2 separate regions of the Homo sapiens genome follow, and region 1 is linked to region 2. Evidence: promoter capture Hi-C in 16 types of primary human blood cells and fetal thymus (Javierre and others, 2016). All regions are on one chromosome and are shown on one strand. The core of a region is centred on a gene start or on the middle of the fragment in contact, and the rest is flanking DNA. Distances in the headings are between cores, read along the strand shown.

The links. The method cuts DNA at HindIII sites, captures the fragments that hold promoters and counts their contacts. A CHiCAGO score of 5 or more calls a contact.
Region 1: a fragment that was not itself captured here is called in contact with the fragment with the promoter of ROPN1 in region 2 in 5 of 17 cell types (fetal thymus, endothelial precursors, neutrophils and 2 more); the score reaches 14.8 in fetal thymus.

Annotation. Positions count from the first base shown.
Region 1 is chr3:125,953,046-125,956,548 of GRCh38, reverse strand. It overlaps the pseudogene ALG1L1P. Among named protein-coding and RNA genes, the nearest start is that of ROPN1B, 14 kb to the left of the region's middle. The HindIII fragment of the contact is 2,102 bases long and covers 305-2,406 here.
Region 2 is chr3:123,990,270-123,993,812 of GRCh38, reverse strand. It overlaps ROPN1 (rhophilin associated tail protein 1), which reads left to right and starts at 1,689. Exons shown (of 6, transcript NM_001317774.2): 1 at 1,689-1,891. RefSeq lists an enhancer at 1,401-1,917. The HindIII fragment of the contact is 3,137 bases long and covers 296-3,432 here.

The DNA.
Region 1 (3,503 bases), core at 106-2,605, 2.0 Mb before region 2:
GTTTTGGAATAATGACAAACACATGAATATAATATGTTAAAACATCTTGTGTACCCCTAACAGTATTTTGGTCCCTAGCTACTGTGTCTCCTGTGCCTAATGAATGAGTTGGCCCTGTTTGCAAGCAATGGGAAAAGAATGTAGCTTAACTCCTTTCTCAGAGTCTGAAGATACCAAGGTTCCAATATGTTCTGAATGATGGCTGAGTTGGGAGGTTATAATCATAAATAAGGCAAATTCCTGTTCTTCCTCTGAGAGGCTTTGGGGGGCTTTGGAGGGGTTGGCAGCTATGGACCACAAAGCTTGGGCACCTCCCAAACATGGGCTGCTCATCTCTTCACCTTGTCCTAGAGTGACATCACCTTCTCCATATGTGACAGATAGTGTTACAGTCTCTACTCTAGGAGGTCCAGAGTGACTGTCCCCATTCCATAGATGGGGAGCCTCAAGCATGGTGAGATGAGCCTGGGTAGCTTGCTCTTCTGCCTTGATTCAGATTCTAATGCCTTGCTGCTTTCTTGGCAGCAGGAAGGAAACATCTTTAAAATATTTTTTTTCTGACTGTGAAAGTGACACTGGTTTATTATGAAATTTTGAAAAATATAAGAAATTGAGAGATTTTTAAAAAACAACAACTCCCTTGATCCTTCCTCCCAGAGCCAACTACTGCCAACTGCCTCATGAGGTTGTATAAATGGGTGCACCATACCATGGGTGGGATAGGACTATTTGACTTCCCGGGAGCCAGCCCAGGAGTTCCTGTCATTGCTGCTATTTCTGCCTGATGGCACCTCAACTGTAAAATGGCTGGATTTTATAATATCCTCCCCTCAAATGCTTACAAGCTACAATGTTAACTGGAAAAGGCAGATTGCAAAATGTTTATACAGTATGATCTCAATTATGGAGAAACATGCATAAAAAATTGAGGAAGGTAATAGATAATTATATCAACAGTGGTATTAGCTGTCCCTCAGCCATGGGAGCTCCTGTATGGGTGAGGAACAGCTTTTTGGGGAGATGGTAGTTTTCCAGCACCACATAACATCCCCCAGAAGGCAATTTTCTCATTTTCCTTTGAATAAAATTCCTCCTGTTTTCACTCCTTAGAAGAGGGCAAGAGGAACTGTGATGCCTCCATGCCTGAACCTCAGACCTTTGGAGGTTGTTGTCCTCTTTCATCTCCTCTTCCCTGTGCCCACCCATGAAGCAGCAGCTTCTGCAGACTCCTATTTGTATTCGAGGCTAGCAGTGGGTTTTCCCAGCCATCCTCTGGGGAATATGAATCTATTCTCTACATAAAAGCAAAGATACAATTAAAGCTATGCATCAGAGAGCAATGAAGGGAACTAACAACTCCACATTACCATGGAGAGGATGCTATAGAACAAGGTCAGTTTCTGCTAGGAGACTTTTTCTTACTATTGCCACAAATGCAGAAGAACAGCTCCTGGTGCCTCTGCAGCCACTCAAGCCTGGCTTATCCGAGAGTGACGGGCATCTGCAGACAAAATATTTTGTCTTCCTCAGCAGCTTGATCCAGTGTTTTACCATGTTTCCCTTAGCTCATACCTACATCTTGCCTAGTAAAGTCATCATCCCATGTCTGTTTTCCCTGATGAAGACAAGACAGAGAACATTGGCCTGTGCATCTCCACAGGATAACCTTCCAAAACTTGATGCTGGGTTGCTTCTAAAGTGTCTATATCAAGCCCTGAATATTAGCATACTACCAGATTAAGGAACTTTGAGTCTAAATGGTACATTCAATAATTTAATTCAACAACTATTTGTTTGAACATCTACTATGTGCTAAGCAGGAAAGAAATAGTCAAGGGGAACACAGTCTGCACCAGAAGTCATCAGCATGTGCTACATCAGATGCCGTGTTCAAAGATCCCACGTCCTCTTTTGGTTTTTAAAGTGAGCTTTGAAGTCAGATAAACTTGGGTCTAATTCATTTTTTGCCACTTACTTCTTCTGTTACCTAGGCTAAGCTACACAACTTGCATGAGTCTCAGTTTTGTTGCCTATAAAGTGGGGGATAATAATACCTATTTCACAAGTTGTAGAATAAATAAAATTATTTAAGCAAAGCACAATTCCTAAAGTGGAAGTTACTCTGCAAATGTTGCTCCTTCCGTCAGGTTTTATGATTTGGTGATGAGGACATCAGAGATATTGAATGTCATATAAAATTGGTTTTTAATTTGAAAATGTAAATTTTTACATGTATTTTTTATTTTGTGGATTAACTATAATTCCAAATTGGCTTCCCACAAACTCAGGTTATGACTTATCATTTAATATGCTAGTATTCATTTGTTTATCCAACAAATATTTAAATATCTTTTGTGGCACAGTCAATGTATGTGTGGGGAATAAAAACTGCCTTTGATATAAGCTTAGTCCAGACATGATCAGGAAAGGAAATCTACCATGAAGAAAATCCTGTATGGAAGGCATTTTCAGGACAGTAGAAGATGGGTTCAGAGAAGCAGGGCTACCAGCAGAGACACTCCTCAAATGCTAGCAGAAAAAACCCTAACAAATGCCTGACTGCAGAAGAATCCTGGGAGCCTGGATTTGCCTCTCATTCTTGAATTGCATTTATTCTGGGAACTAAGCAGAGTGCTGTGTCAATCTGCTATGAGGGAGGCAGAATTATAAACAGAATATGTGCTAGAAATAGAAAATGAGACGAAAGATGGCATTTTGGGGCTTTCACGACTTCCCCCAGCCCCCCGCCCTCCTTCAGCAGAGGGAGAAGTCATCCAGTTTTGGTGAAGGCAAAAAATTCAAAAGCCATCATTCCAAGAGCAGTGGAAGGAAGGGAGGAAGTAGAAAGTATGAAAGTGGTGAAAAGTATAGAAGTGGGAAGAGTTGAGTGAGATGTGAATAGAGGGGTGGGAGGGTAAGCTGGCCTCCCGGGCAGATGAGAGGAAACCAAAGAGAAAAGCCCAGGGCTAGGACACAGAATGAAGATTTACCCAGCTGGAGAGAAACTTGAAATAACAAGATAGTAACAACACATGGCCAGACAGGGATTGTGTTGGAAAAGAATTAAAAAGCTTAAACCCGGCTGGGTGCAGTGGCTCACGCCTGTAATCCCAGCACTTTGGGAGGCCGAGGCGGGTGGATCACGAGGTCAGGAGATCGAGAGCATCCTGGATAACACGGTGAAACCCCGTCTCTACTAAAAATACAAAAAAATAGCCGGGCATGGTGGCAGGCACCTGTAGTCCCAGCTACTCAGGAGGCTGAGGCAGGAGAATGGCGTGAACCCGGGAGGCGGAGCTTGCAGTGAGCCAAGATGGCACCACTGCACTCCAGCCTGGGCAACAGAGCAAGACTCCATCTCAAAAAAATAAATAAATAAAATAAAAAATAAAAATAGAAAAAGCTTAAACCCTAAAAATGGAATTAGGTGGGAAGGCTAATGTGACTGTGAGATAAAAGACCCAGGCCTGATCAGTAACATTCCCAGGTAGCTCCATTTACCC
Region 2 (3,543 bases), core at 440-2,939:
TCCACAGAGGCCTCAGAAAGGCAGGTGATAGCTAGTGACTAGGTTTCTTTCATCCCCAGATCTTGCCCTGTGGGCAGTGGCCATCCCCAGACCATCCAGGATTCTCCAGGTGTGCAAGGACCTACAGGATTTTGACAAATGCCAGCAGAGTGGCCTCTTTACAAATGGATGACAACAGGCTGTGAAAAGCTTTCTGCATGCGTAACCCAAAAATCTAGTTCCCCCACTTGTTCACTGATGCTTAAAATTGCTTTAGGGAGAGACAAAGGCTTTCATCTCACAAACAGAGAAAGCTTTGAAGGGCCTGGGTGAACTAATCTATTTAGACTAATACACACTGTTGTATAAATGGAATGAAGGATTAGATGATGCAATGGGCCCCTTTAAAATAGGTGTGAAGTGACACGGGATGTAGCAGAGAAAGATGGGGCTTTTCTTGCCTCCTTGGGTGCTTAAAACGAACAGTCTTGAGACCAGGTGCGGTAGCTCAAACCTGTAATCCCAATACTTTGGGAGACCAAGGCAGGTGGATCACTTGAGCCCAGGGATTCAAGACCAGCCTGGGCAACATGGCAAAACCCCGTTTATAAAAATATAAAAATTAGCCTGTCATCGTGGCAAGCACCTGCAGTCTCAGCTACTTGGGAGGCTGAGGTGGGAGGATTGCTTAGACCTAGGAGATTGAGGCTGCAGTGAGTCATGATTACCCCATTGCACTCCAGCCTGGGCAACAGAGCAAGACCCTGTCTCAAAACACACACACACACACACACACACACACACACACACACACACACACACACACAGTCTTGAAACCGGAAGACCTGGAGTAAAGTTGGGCCCTGAGCCCTACTGCCAGCTGTTCGATCACAGGCAAAATTACTCGAAGCCTTGAGCCTGTTTTTTATTTCCAAAGCGAAGGTAATACCTACCTTCAGAGTTTACTGTGAAACTTTGATGTCATCATGTTTGTAAAAGTGCCCTGGCACAGTGACCACATTCTACCCTATAAATATTTTCTATCTTTCCCTGTTGTCCCCAGGCATCTCAGGCTCTGTTCCTATCCACTCCATGCCCCTTTCTTAGCATTATAAGGTCAAGAGTGAGGAATCTGGGACCACGCAACCCAGATTCAGATCCTGACTCTGTCACTTGCTGACTGTCATCTTGGACAAGTTTAACCTCTCTGTGCTCAGTTCCCTCATCTGTAAAAATGGGGATAACAATAGTACTTGCCTCATGGGGTGACAGTAAGGATGAAATGAGTTCATGTGTGTAATGCACTTAGAACAATTCCTGGCACCAAAAACTCATTGTAAGAAGTGTTGTTACTATGATTCCTGAGGAATTCTCACCTGTCCACTTTCCACAAGCCGAAAGATCAAGCTCCACTTCTGCCCTCTCACCTACAAAAGCGCACCGTCAATGGCTACACATTCCGCCCCACCCCCAACGCCCCCAGCCCGGGTTTCCTAACGTCCCCAGCCCAGTCCTTAACCCTCCAGGCCGTCTGGTCCTTCCACCACCAGCAAAGCCCAAAACAGCTTTCAGCGTCCCCTAGCAGCGCCCTAGCGGGACCCTGGGAACCCGCCGCTGCAGGAGAGGCGGGGCGGCTCTGTGACGTCGCGCCCGGCGCTACCCCTGGTGACCTGGCAGCGGAGCCCGCGCAGGGTTTGCCAGGCGAAGGCGGAGCGCTAACGTCTAACGCTAACGGCGGTCGTGCCCCGCCGCTGCTGTCACCCCCGGCCGCTGCTGCCCTCCCCGCCGAGGTTCTACTGCTCTCCTTCTTAAGAAGGGTGGGAGGCACTCGGTCTCTCCCCACACCTCTCGCCTGAGGCCAGGCGCCAGGTGTCGCCTGAAGCCAGACAGCCGGTTTGGGAGCGAGCCTGAGGTAGCCACCCCGAGGGGAAGTGGAGGGAGGGCAGGGCTCTGAGCGCCCCGAGGGCTGCGCTGGTCTGAGGGAGGAGCCCTGCCGGACGCCCCCTGGATTCTGAGCCTCTCCTTGTTCACAGGGCAAGGGGAAGGCAAGGGGATCTTCAAGAGAATGTGACTGTGGGGGATTATGGCTTTCTGGCCAATTTGTGTGCGTATTTTGTACCCAGAATACTATTATACGGTTTCTTACCCGGAGGACAGTGGTTGGGAGGCTCAAGAGTTTGGAATCAGAGCCCTCCACCGAGGAGCCACACCTCTGCTTTTTCATCAGCGACAGGGATATAAAAATACCTCTGGGTGAATTGTCATGTGGATGTCATGGGCATACCTAGCACTTCATAGACTCCTATCACACATTATTTTATACCTAGCACTTCATAGACTCCTGTCAGGCATTATTTTATACCTGGCACTTCATAGACTCCTATCACATATTATTTTATACCTAGCACTTCATAGACTCCTATCACGCATTATTTTATACCTAGCACTTCATAGACTCCTATCACGTGTTCATTTTATAGCTAGCACTTCATAGACTGCTATCACGCATTCATTTTTACTAGTACCTATTGAACACTAAGTTCCAGGCACTGGGCTAGGCACTGGGATGGTGTGGTGAGCAAAAACTGACCAGTCCTGCCGTGGAGTTTGCTGGGGGAGACACATGTTACTCAAAGAATCACACTAAGGATAGGTAAGTGATGCTCTGGAAGGGTATGTACAATGGAACTGACAGGGTAATCAGGGAAGGTTAAGCAGACCTCCAAAGGAAGAATCAACCTGTTAAGAGGAGGAGAATGTATTCCAAACAAGAGTAACCACATCCCAAACCCACCATCTCCAATTCCAAACCCAAACAGGGATGTGCAGTTGCCTGTGCTTGGTTCCAAGTGATACTCATAGAAACCCTCTGAGATTCTGCCCTGGAGCCTTTCATTCATGTTACTGGAGACTTTCATTTATGAAACGGAAGCCCTGTTTAGCCCATACCAATAAAACCAAGTGAGAGATCCCTGAAACAAGGCTATAGTCTATTTTAAGACCTACATTCTTCAGCACTTGGCAGGTATATGTTGGCCTCCATTTTACATTGAGAGGCATGTAGGTTTCACTTAGGAGGAAATGCATTGAATTGAAAGAGTTGGGGTTATGGATAAGCTCTGGAATGTATAATTGAAGAAGACCTACACTATCAAGAGATTTAAAAATGGAAAATAACTTTACAAAATGTTAGAATTGAGGAATGTTAAGATAGAATGGACCTTTCTCCCACTTCTTTGATGTGAACAAATGACCCTTATTGCCCAAAGGCAGGAAAGCTGGGCTTTGGTGCCTCTTCAACTCAGAGAGTCTATGATTTCAACTCTGTGATTCAAAAGTGCATGGAACTCCTGAAAGTAAATGGGAACATGGGGGGATAATTTGACCTGACCCTCCTTTAGTGTTTTCTATTTCTACAAGGGTACCACCACTGTGCACCCAGTCATCCAAGCTTGAAAACTGATAGTCACTCTAGACTTTTCTGTCCTTCACCTCTTCCTCCTTCTCCACCTTCTCTTCTTCCTCCTCCTCCACCTCCTCTTTTCTTCCTCCTCCTCCTCCTTC